3 separate regions of the Homo sapiens genome follow, and all the other regions are linked to region 1. Evidence: promoter capture Hi-C in 16 types of primary human blood cells and fetal thymus (Javierre and others, 2016). All regions are on one chromosome and are shown on one strand. Each heading gives the region's core, a stretch centred on a gene start or on the middle of the fragment in contact. The rest is flanking DNA. Distances are from core to core; before and after follow the strand shown. Region 1 holds the start of ZNF710 (zinc finger protein 710). Region 2 holds the start of ANPEP (alanyl aminopeptidase, membrane). Region 3 overlaps ANPEP (alanyl aminopeptidase, membrane).

Region 1 (3,098 bases), core at 357-2,856:
AGGGCTGGGGGGAGGGGTGAGGAGTGGCAGGTCGTGTCCCCGGGAGGCTGCAGTCACTGGGGGAGAGACAATGGGGCTCAGCATCTGCTCCTCCCTGGGAGAAGGGACCCTTCAGTGAAAAGCCAGGGAGAGCAGGGAAGTGTGGGAGGAATTGATGAGGAGAAGGGGTGGAGCCAAGGAGATGCAGCCGGGAGGAAGGAAGGGAAGGGAAGGAAGGGAAGAGGGAGGGGAGAGGATCCAGGCTTTCCTTCCTCCCGGTGACCTGGTCCTGAGCCGCAGCTTCCCTTGCATTGTTCCCTGAGTTTGCTCTCGGGGCCCACCGAGACCTCACGTTTCTCCCCCTGGCTGCAGCCCCAGTCCGAGGGCCCGGCATCCAGCAGGTGCTCAATACTTACTTGGGAAAATGACAAATGTGACCAACTTTGCTTTGGGAACTTTCCCCCGTCTTCTCCCCACTCCTCCGGAGAACCCGAGGACAGAGCAGGTCTTGGGAGCACGCCCGGGCGCCCCATGAATAATTGACCCTTCCTGGCGGCACTGCCCGGCTCTGTCCGAGGGCTCCGGACCCGCCCTGCGTTGCAGTCGAGAAACGGCTCGGAGTGGCGGGTGTTCTGGAGGTTGGAGGCCTGGTGTCCGGCCTGCGCCGGAGCTGGAGGGCGGCGAGGCTGTGCCAAACCCCGCGGCCCCTCAGGGAGCCGAGAGGGACCTGACGGCCGCGCTGCCAGCGACCACGCCTCGGCGCCCCCCAGCAGTGCGCCCCGGGGCCGAGGCCCAGGCCCTGGGCTCGGGGACCCCGCCAGCCCGCCGATCCCAGCAGCTGCCCTGAGCCCCTTCTCCACCCGGGCCCTGGCGCTCGGAGCCCGCGCCGCTCCCTCGAGTCAGGCCGTCCAGGGCTCTGCTAACAGCTGTTTAAAGGCTTTTGCTGTTCAGTGCTCTGCGGGGATGTTTGTTCCAGGCCCATCTGCCTACTTTAAAAATACATAAGTGAAGCACACACACCCAGCTTGCCACCTCTGGCTGGGGAGGGGCGGGCTCGGCGGCCCTCGCTCGCACTTGGGAAGGAACCGGCACCCAGGAGCCGCACCCGTGCCCCAACACCCGCACCGGCTCTCCTCTCCAGAGGACGCCCCTGGCTTCCCTTGGGGGGGGCGGGGCGCAGGGCCCCCGGGCCCCCTTTGTACCGGACAGGGCCGGGCCCCCCATTTCCAAGCGAGGTCTGCCTCTTCCCCGCTTCAGTTAATCTTTGTTCCCCTTTTCTGCTGAGAGGAGAAAAAAAAAAGAGAGAGAGAGAAAGAAAGAAAAGAAGGAAAAAAGGCGTGACTTGATTTTCAAACGAAACTCCCACAGCAAACAAAACCCTTTTAGAGAAATAAGAAAGGAGGAAGAAGGAAGAAAAGAGGGAAGAAAAAAACAGGAGAAAGAAAACCCTTCAGGCTTTCAATTCGAGTGGGAGAGTTGAACCGAAAGAAAGAGAAAGAAAGGAAGAAAAATCCTCTGCGGTAGAAAGAGAAAAGAAAACTTGGGCTGACAAGAGGGAGGTGTTGGGGGTGGAAGGAAGTGAGAAAACAAAAGAGAGATAAAAGGGCTGCTTTTCTGTCTCTCTCTTCCTCTGCGAGCTGGCTTAGGAGGAGCTGTTTTGCATCCCTTCACGTCAGCCCTGCCTCATTCCCTTCTTCCAGGGAGGGAGAGAGCGCGAGCGAGAGAGCGAGCGAGAGGAGGGGGGAGAGAGAGAAAGAGAGGAGCCGGAGGGAGGGCGGCAGGAGCAGGCGGCGGGCGCGCGTGGAGGCGGGCGGCGGGCGCACAGCAGCAGCCCGGGCGGTGGGCAGCCAGGAGCCCCCGGCCCGGCCCGGCCCGGCCCGCCGAGGGCCCCAGCGCAGGAGCCGCGCCCGGACCCAGGGTGAGTGTCCCGCGCGGCCCCCCGCCCCAGCCCCAGCCCCAGCCCCGCAGCCCCGCGCTGCCGGCCGGCGGGGGCGCGGGGGGCGCGGGGGTGGGTCGCTGCGGCCGCGGCCGACCCGCCCCCCGCCTCTCCCTGGGGACGGCCGCGCGCAGGCCCGCGCCGCGCTGCAAACATGTCGTCTTTTCCTTTCACTTCCACATTCCCTCATGCCGGAGAGCTGGAGGGAGAGAGGGAGAGCCGGGGAAAGAGGGAGAGATGGCGTCTGGGGTGGGGGGGAGGGAGAGGAGGGGGAGGGGGAAGGGAGAGGGAGGGAGCGAGCGAAAGAGGGCGAGAGGGAGGAGAGCGCGCGAATGAGAGAGAGAGAGAGAGAGAGAGAGAGAGAGGCAAAAATGAAAGGAAAGCGTCGCGGCGGCGGCGGCGGCGGCGCGGGAGGCCCGGGAGGCGACGGTGGCGGAGGCTCTCGGGCCCGCACGTGGGTGTCCCGGTGCTGGGTGCGCTCCCCCCACACCCGGCCCGGGACTCAAAGTTTCACCCCCTCGCCGCCCCGCCCCTACGGCTGCCCACAAACTTTATTCTCGGAGCGGGTGGGGTTGTTGCGCGTCCCAGCCGGCCGGGGGTGGGGGAGAGCTGAGCGCGCCGCTGGCGGGGCTGGGGGCGTCCCCGAGGGCCACTGGCCGCCGCACGCTGGGCGCCGCGGGATCTCCGCCGGGACAGCGTCGGGGCGCCGCGGGCCGGGGACCCAGGACCGGCGCTCGCTGTCTGGGGGCGTGGGGGTGGGGGTGGCGGGCGGGGTCCCTACGGCCCGTCTTGAGCCTCCCGCGGCTCAGCCCCCCTTCCTCCTCGTCGCCCTCTCTCCGTCTTCTCGCGGTCATTTTCCTAATTGGATGGAGCTGTGGGGCGTGAGCACCAGCGTCAGATCGGGGCCCTCAGGCTACCAGGTGGGCGCGCGGGCTCGGGGACCGACGGGGCAGCCCCAGCCTCCCCACCCTAGGCGCACAGATCCCGCAGATCCGGCCCTTGGGCCACCGCCCCCTTCACCGCGGACTTGCTAACTAGTGCGTATCGGGTTTTTTTCCAACTTGCCTTTTAAGATGACTTTTATGGGCGCTGCAACTGCTTCCCTCCAGTCTAAGCTGTAGTTTGGAAAGATTTAAGAGGCCAGGGAGGTGCTTGTGTGGATTTTAACCAACCTGAAAGGGTC
Region 2 (2,886 bases), core at 168-2,667, 190 kb before region 1:
GCTGCCTCAAGACACTGGGCCGGTTTCCCCACCTGTGAAGCGGGAGCAGCGCTGTGGGTGGCCTCCTTGCACTCATAGTGTGGCCTTCGAGGCTAGGGCTCCACAGGAAGGTGGCTGAGAGTGGATGAGGGCCTCATGGGCCCAGCACACCCTCCCACAGGGAGAGGGGAGTCCACCCTCTTCCCTGCCCAGCTCCCCCATACCCACTGGGGCTAGCCAGCCTTCCTGTGGGACAGAGGCTGTCCCCACTTCCTCCTGGTCACCCCTACCCCACACGCCCACCTCCCCTCCACAAAACACATACCCTGAGGGGCCCTCTGGTCCAAGCCTCCCCTTTCACAGGTGAATTAACTGAGGCCCAGTAAGGCCAGGGCGTTTAGAGACTCAGGGATGAAGCCACATCAGACCTCAGGTCTGGCTGAGACCAGGGCTCTGACCACCCCCGAACACGGCCTGGTGGGTTGCAGTCCAGGGGCTGAGGTGGGGGAGGAGTGGGGATCCAGTCACAAAACCCCAGGACATAGCCCACCTGGGCCGTCCCTGCCCACCGCACTGCTGGGGGGGGGGGGTGCGTTCTGGAGTCATTTGGGGAAAGGATCCCATTGGCCCTGTTTAGGGGACCTTTTCCCAGACCAAGAGTGGATTGCAATGGGGCCCTGGATCTGTCTCAGTTGCTCACCAGGGAGGGCGTGGAATAGGCTCCACAACCCCCAAACCTCGGTCCCCATCCATGCCCCGGCATCTTGGCCGGGTTGTAGGAGCGAGGGAGAACGCGACTGTAACGCGGGCGTTGAGCACCTAGAGTTCCCCTTCCTCTTCACTGAGAGCTGCGGCGGAGGCTTTAGACCGAGGAGCGAGATCTAAGGTTAAAGAAAGGGCCTCTGAGCCCAGTGTTGGCCAGAGACCCCACAGGCGGGCCGGGTTCGCCCTTTGCCTTCGGCCGCGCCCCACCCACCAGGGACAGAGTGGCCGCGGCCGAGCCGGGTCCACCCGCCGCAGCTTAGCTCCGCTCCGCCGCCCTCCCCGTCCGTCCTCCCCAGGCTCCCGTCGCCCTCGCCCACCCTGGGGCCCCCTCCCCAGATGGGAGCCCCTCCGACCCCTGCGAGGCCCGCTGGGGACCCACTTGACCGCGAGATCGTAGTGGGAGCTCGGCCAAAAGAATTCTTCGCTTTCCCTGGCCCTCAGTTTACCCATCTGGGAAGAGGGGCGTCGCGGCCGCAGAAGTCCAGCTCCGCACGCGCCAAGCGCTGGGTCTGCAGCTCCCTCGGTTCCCGCGCACCCAACTGCCCCACGACCCCTACCCGCGCCCGCAGCCCCCGCCCTCCCGCCCCACTTGCCTGGGCCGCCGGGCGCTGGAACCTGGACCCTGGACCCTGGCGGGTTCCGAGCTGCGCCGCCGCCGTCCCTGCCCCTCCAGCACTGGACTCCTCCTTTCCCGTCTTTTTAAAGGGAAGTAACCGGACCCGACCACTACTCCACCCGATTCACCCCTAGCGGGCCGCCCGCCCGCAGCTCCGCCCGGGCTCCTCCCCCGTCCGCCCGCGGCTTCCCGGGAGCCCCCCAGGGCTCCTCCGCTCCTCCGACGGCCCGGCCTTCCCCCCGGGGCCTGGGATGCACCAGGGCTCCTGCTGCCCCCGACGGGGTCCCTGTCGCCGCAGCCCGCGGGACCCGCCGGCCACATCTGGACGGCATCTGCCGCGGGGGAGGGGCTCAGAGCCTCGCCCTGAGTGTCCCGCAGGGAGCCTTGTGCATCCGGGGCAGGAAGCCAGCGCATCCCGTGCAGACGGGTGGTGCAGATAACGGACCCGCCACAGCACGCAATTCAACTTTCTTGGTACCTGGGACTCGTAGTTCAGAAGGCGCAGTAGCACGACCTTGCGAAAAAGCACCGGAGTCGGGAACACGCGCTTCTCATTTTTTTCTTTTTCCTTTATTTGTTTTTGAGACAGAGTCTCGCTCTGTCGCTCACGCTGGAGTGCAGTGGCACTTTCTCCGCTCACTGCAACTTCCTCCTCCTGGGTTCAAGCGATTCTCCTGCCTCAGCCTCCCGAGTAGCTGGGACTACAGGTGCACGCCACCACGCCTGGTTAATTTTTGGAGTTTTAGTAGAGACAGGGTTTCACCATGTAAGGCTCGTCTCGAACTCCTGACCTCAAGTGATCCGCCCGCCTTGGCCTCCCAAAGTGCTGAGATTACAGGAGTGAGCCACCACACCTGGCCTGCGCCTCTCATCTTGATCCTGCTTGCAGAGGTTGTGCAGCCACCGGAGCCCCGCCAGGGTGGGGCTCCCTGTCTCTGAGCAGCTTTAATGGGCGGTACCAGATAATATTTGTATTGGTTCCCTGTGGCTGCCGTAACACAAACATAAAACAACACTAATTTACTATCTTACAAGTTTTGTAAAATCAGAAGTCCAAAATGGGTCTCGCTGGACTAAAAGCAAGGGGGTTGAGGGATACAGCTTTCTTGAGGCTGGAAGGGAACCTGTTTCTTTGGCTTTTCTGGCTTCTAGAAGCTGCCCACATTCCTTGGCTGGTGGCCCCATCCATCTTCAAAGCCAGCAGTGGCCCACCAGTCTCTCACAATCTGTCACTCTGACACCAACTGTTCTGCCTCTTGCTTCCACTGGTGAGCATCTTTGTGATTACATCGGGCCTACCCAGATAATCCAGGGTAATCTTTCTATTTTAAATCAATGGATTGGCAACTTGAATTCCACCTGCAACTGTAATTTCCCTTCGTGGGGTAGCATAACATATTCACAGATTCTGGGCATTAGAACCAGGGCATCTTTTGAGGAGGAGGATATGATTATGTCTACCACAATATTCAAGCTGACTTCCAGACTTTCAGATTTATAATCAAATTTAAGCTCTTCCTTATCCA
Region 3 (2,711 bases), core at 155-2,654, 210 kb before region 1:
AAAAAATAAAAGAATGCGTTTATTTTTCATATGACTAAATTATTTAGAGGTAAAATTACATGATCAGTGATTTGCTTAAAAATTGCCCGCCCGGAAAAAGTACTGGCAAAATGTTGATAATTGTTGAACCTGGGTAACGGGTACATGGAGGTTCATTATACCACTCTTCCCTTTTGTGCCTATACAAAAATCCCAAGATGAATTTTTTAAATTGAATTATCAACATTTCCAAAGTCTGGCTACTCGGCTTCCTCTGTAAATGAGGAAGGCCTGGCGGCGTGGAGCCTGTGCTCCCTCAGGGCCACGTGGGAGAAGAATGGAGTGCCCCTTTGGCCTGGGAAGGAAGTAGGCAGAGCCCAGGTCTGGGGAATGACTTCTTACCTGCTGCAGCTCATACTCGGTGGAGAATCGTCGTGTCACTGCCTGGATGAGGTTGGAGAAGGAGAACGAGCCACCACCATAACTGCAGGGAGGGAGAGAGGTGAACTGTGAGGGAGGCCGGGAACTAAGGAGGCTCATCCTCACACCTACTGGGTAGGGAGCCATGATTATAGAGGAGATGAAATGACACGCCCTGGGAGACCCCACTAGGATGTGGGGGAGTCACAGCTTGAACACAGGTCTGACTGCCGAGTTCCTCACTCCCCTCTCTTCTGGAGAATACGCCCACACGCCACGTTTTCCTTCCAAATGGGAAAAGGGACGGCCCATACCCCAGCTTGTCTTTCCATTCCTGCCCCACCCTAGCCCCCAGGCTTGGCTGATTTTTGTCCACTTCTGGTTAGTGCCCCCGGCGTGTCTTACCCGCACAGGCCACCCCCCGGGGCCCCAGCCTCGGCGCTCGCTGTCCCTGACACCCATTCCACAGACTCACTCGTTAAAAAGCTTCTTCCAGTTGCTCTGGACAAAGTCCCAGACCAGACCTTGCCCAATGACGTTGTTGGTAATGCTGATGATGGTAGAGGTGGCGTCCTGCTTCCGGATTAAGTCCGGGTTCAGGGTGTAGCTCAGGTACCTAAGAGGGCCAGATGCTGTCTCAGCTACTGCTAATTCAGGTGACTCAGGAGAGAACTTGGACTGTCCCACGCACATCACCTATGCCTGCATCCTCTCAACATCCCCTCGGCCTGCCAGGGGCTGAGGGACCCCTTGGTCCTTCTTCCCTCTATAGATGGAAAACTGAGTCACCTAAGCAGGGTCACAGGGTCACTGGCTAAGCTAGTGTCATGCCTGACATAGAAATATTTGACAATGAATCAATGAAGGAAGGAGTCCTAGCGCCCCAAGCCCTGGCACCAGGTGGGTGGTCACTCCCGTCTTTGACACTGAGGGTGGCCCTTCTTTTCTTTTCTTTTCTTTTCTCTTTTCTTTTCTTTCGAGACGGAGTCTCACTCTGTCGCCCAGGCTGGAGTGCAGTGGAGCGATTTGGGCTTACTGTAACCTTCGCCTGCCAGGTTCAAGTGATTCTCCTGCCTCAGCCTCCCGGGTAGCTGGGATTACAGGCATGTGCCACCATGCCTATTTTTTTTTTTTTTTTGTATTTTTAGTATTTTTAGTAGAGACGGGGTTTCTCCATGTTGGCCAGGCTGGTCTCGAACTCCTGACCTCAGGTGATCCATCCACCTCAGTCTTCCAAAGTGCTGGGATTACAGGTATGAGCCACCACACCCTGCCCAAGGGTGGCTCTTCTTTACTGCATCCAGGTAATGGCATATGAGGCACATGGTGGGAGGTGGGGACCCTCATCCAAGGGCTTGAGGGGGTGCCCAGCTGGATGTTTGAAAAGACCCAGGTCCAGCTACACCAGAGCCTTTGACAGAAGGGAAGACGAGTTGTTGTCAGGTAAAGGCTAAGAGGCCACAGCAGCTAGGAACAGAGGACATGGACCCAGACCTGAGTCCATATCTTGTCTCTATCACTTATTAAAGCTTCCAGTCTGCACCGGTTACTTTGGAAATACTGCCTCCACCTCAACAGGTCTGTGGGGGTCACGTGAAGGATCTGGCGAGGAGTGTGGAGGCCTGCCTGGTTCTCCAGGTGGGGAGAGGGCTCTCGCAGTCCCACCCTGCGCCAAGACTCACCTGTTCAGGATCCACAACTCTTTGCTGCAGGCCAGGGCTGCCCGGAGCTTGTCAGCCTCATTGACCAGTGTGGCATTTCGGAACTGCTCCCAGGCGAAGTCCCACTCCTCCTCCCCGCCCTGGGCGATAGCGTTGCAGTAGACGGTGGACCGCAGGTTGGGGTGGATCCTGGTGTGGGGTAGGGAGGTCAGGTGTGGAACAGCAGCGGGGAGGGTGGGACAGGGTTCTGCTGAGGACGGGGCTGTTGGGGGCAGATGAAGACTGGCAGAGGAGGCGCAGGGGAGACACTCACGGGTTATTATTGGGGTTCTCCATCCACTGCTTGAAAAGGCCAGAGACCATCTCCTCACACTCTGGAACTCCGTTGGAGCAGGCGGTGCTGATGGCATTAACCTCGCTGTACCTGCCCCAGGGGTGACACGCGGTTAGCACACCTGGCGAACTCCAGCCAAGATTCACCTCTTGACACACAACCCCAGGCCGGCACCCTGCCTAAGGCTCTGTGGCCTAACTGGCCCTCTGACCCCCGCTGTATGTGCTTTGTGCCTTGGGCCTGAGGTTCCTTGGTCCCCAAAGCAGCCCTGTGACCCAGAAGGGCAGGAACAGGCTCCAGCCCCAGTTTCAACACCT

What was found. The method cuts DNA at HindIII sites, captures the fragments that hold promoters and counts their contacts. A CHiCAGO score of 5 or more calls a contact.
Region 2: a contact is called between the fragment with the promoter of ANPEP here and the fragment with the promoter of ZNF710 in region 1, in 3 of 17 cell types (neutrophils, monocytes and M1 macrophages). The highest score is 12.1, in neutrophils.
Region 3: a fragment that was not itself captured here is called in contact with the fragment with the promoter of ZNF710 in region 1 in 1 of 17 cell types (neutrophils); the score reaches 5.6 in neutrophils.

Annotation. Positions count from the first base shown.
Region 1 is chr15:89,999,718-90,002,815 of GRCh38, forward strand. It overlaps ZNF710 (zinc finger protein 710), which reads left to right and starts at 1,607. Exons shown (of 5, transcript NM_198526.4): 1 at 1,607-1,897. RefSeq lists silencers at 1,059-1,228, 1,637-1,805, 2,221-2,720 and an enhancer at 2,420-3,098. The HindIII fragment of the contact is 9,552 bases long and covers 1-3,098 here.
Region 2 is chr15:89,813,435-89,816,320 of GRCh38, forward strand. It overlaps ANPEP (alanyl aminopeptidase, membrane), which reads right to left and starts at 1,418. Exons shown (of 21, transcript NM_001150.3): 1 at 1,338-1,418. RefSeq lists an enhancer at 987-1,486, promoters at 1,354-2,508, 1,354-1,842 and cis regulatory regions at 1,457-1,462, 1,714-1,842, 1,750-1,753, 1,752-1,781, 1,799-1,801. The HindIII fragment of the contact is 11,363 bases long and covers 1-2,886 here.
Region 3 is chr15:89,790,079-89,792,789 of GRCh38, forward strand. ANPEP (alanyl aminopeptidase, membrane) reads right to left here. Exons shown (of 21, transcript NM_001150.3): 17 at 2,374-2,484; 18 at 2,082-2,249; 19 at 875-1,015; 20 at 382-463. Among named protein-coding and RNA genes, the nearest start is that of MESP2, 15 kb to the left of the region's middle. RefSeq lists an enhancer at 2,209-2,709. The HindIII fragment of the contact is 1,043 bases long and covers 884-1,926 here.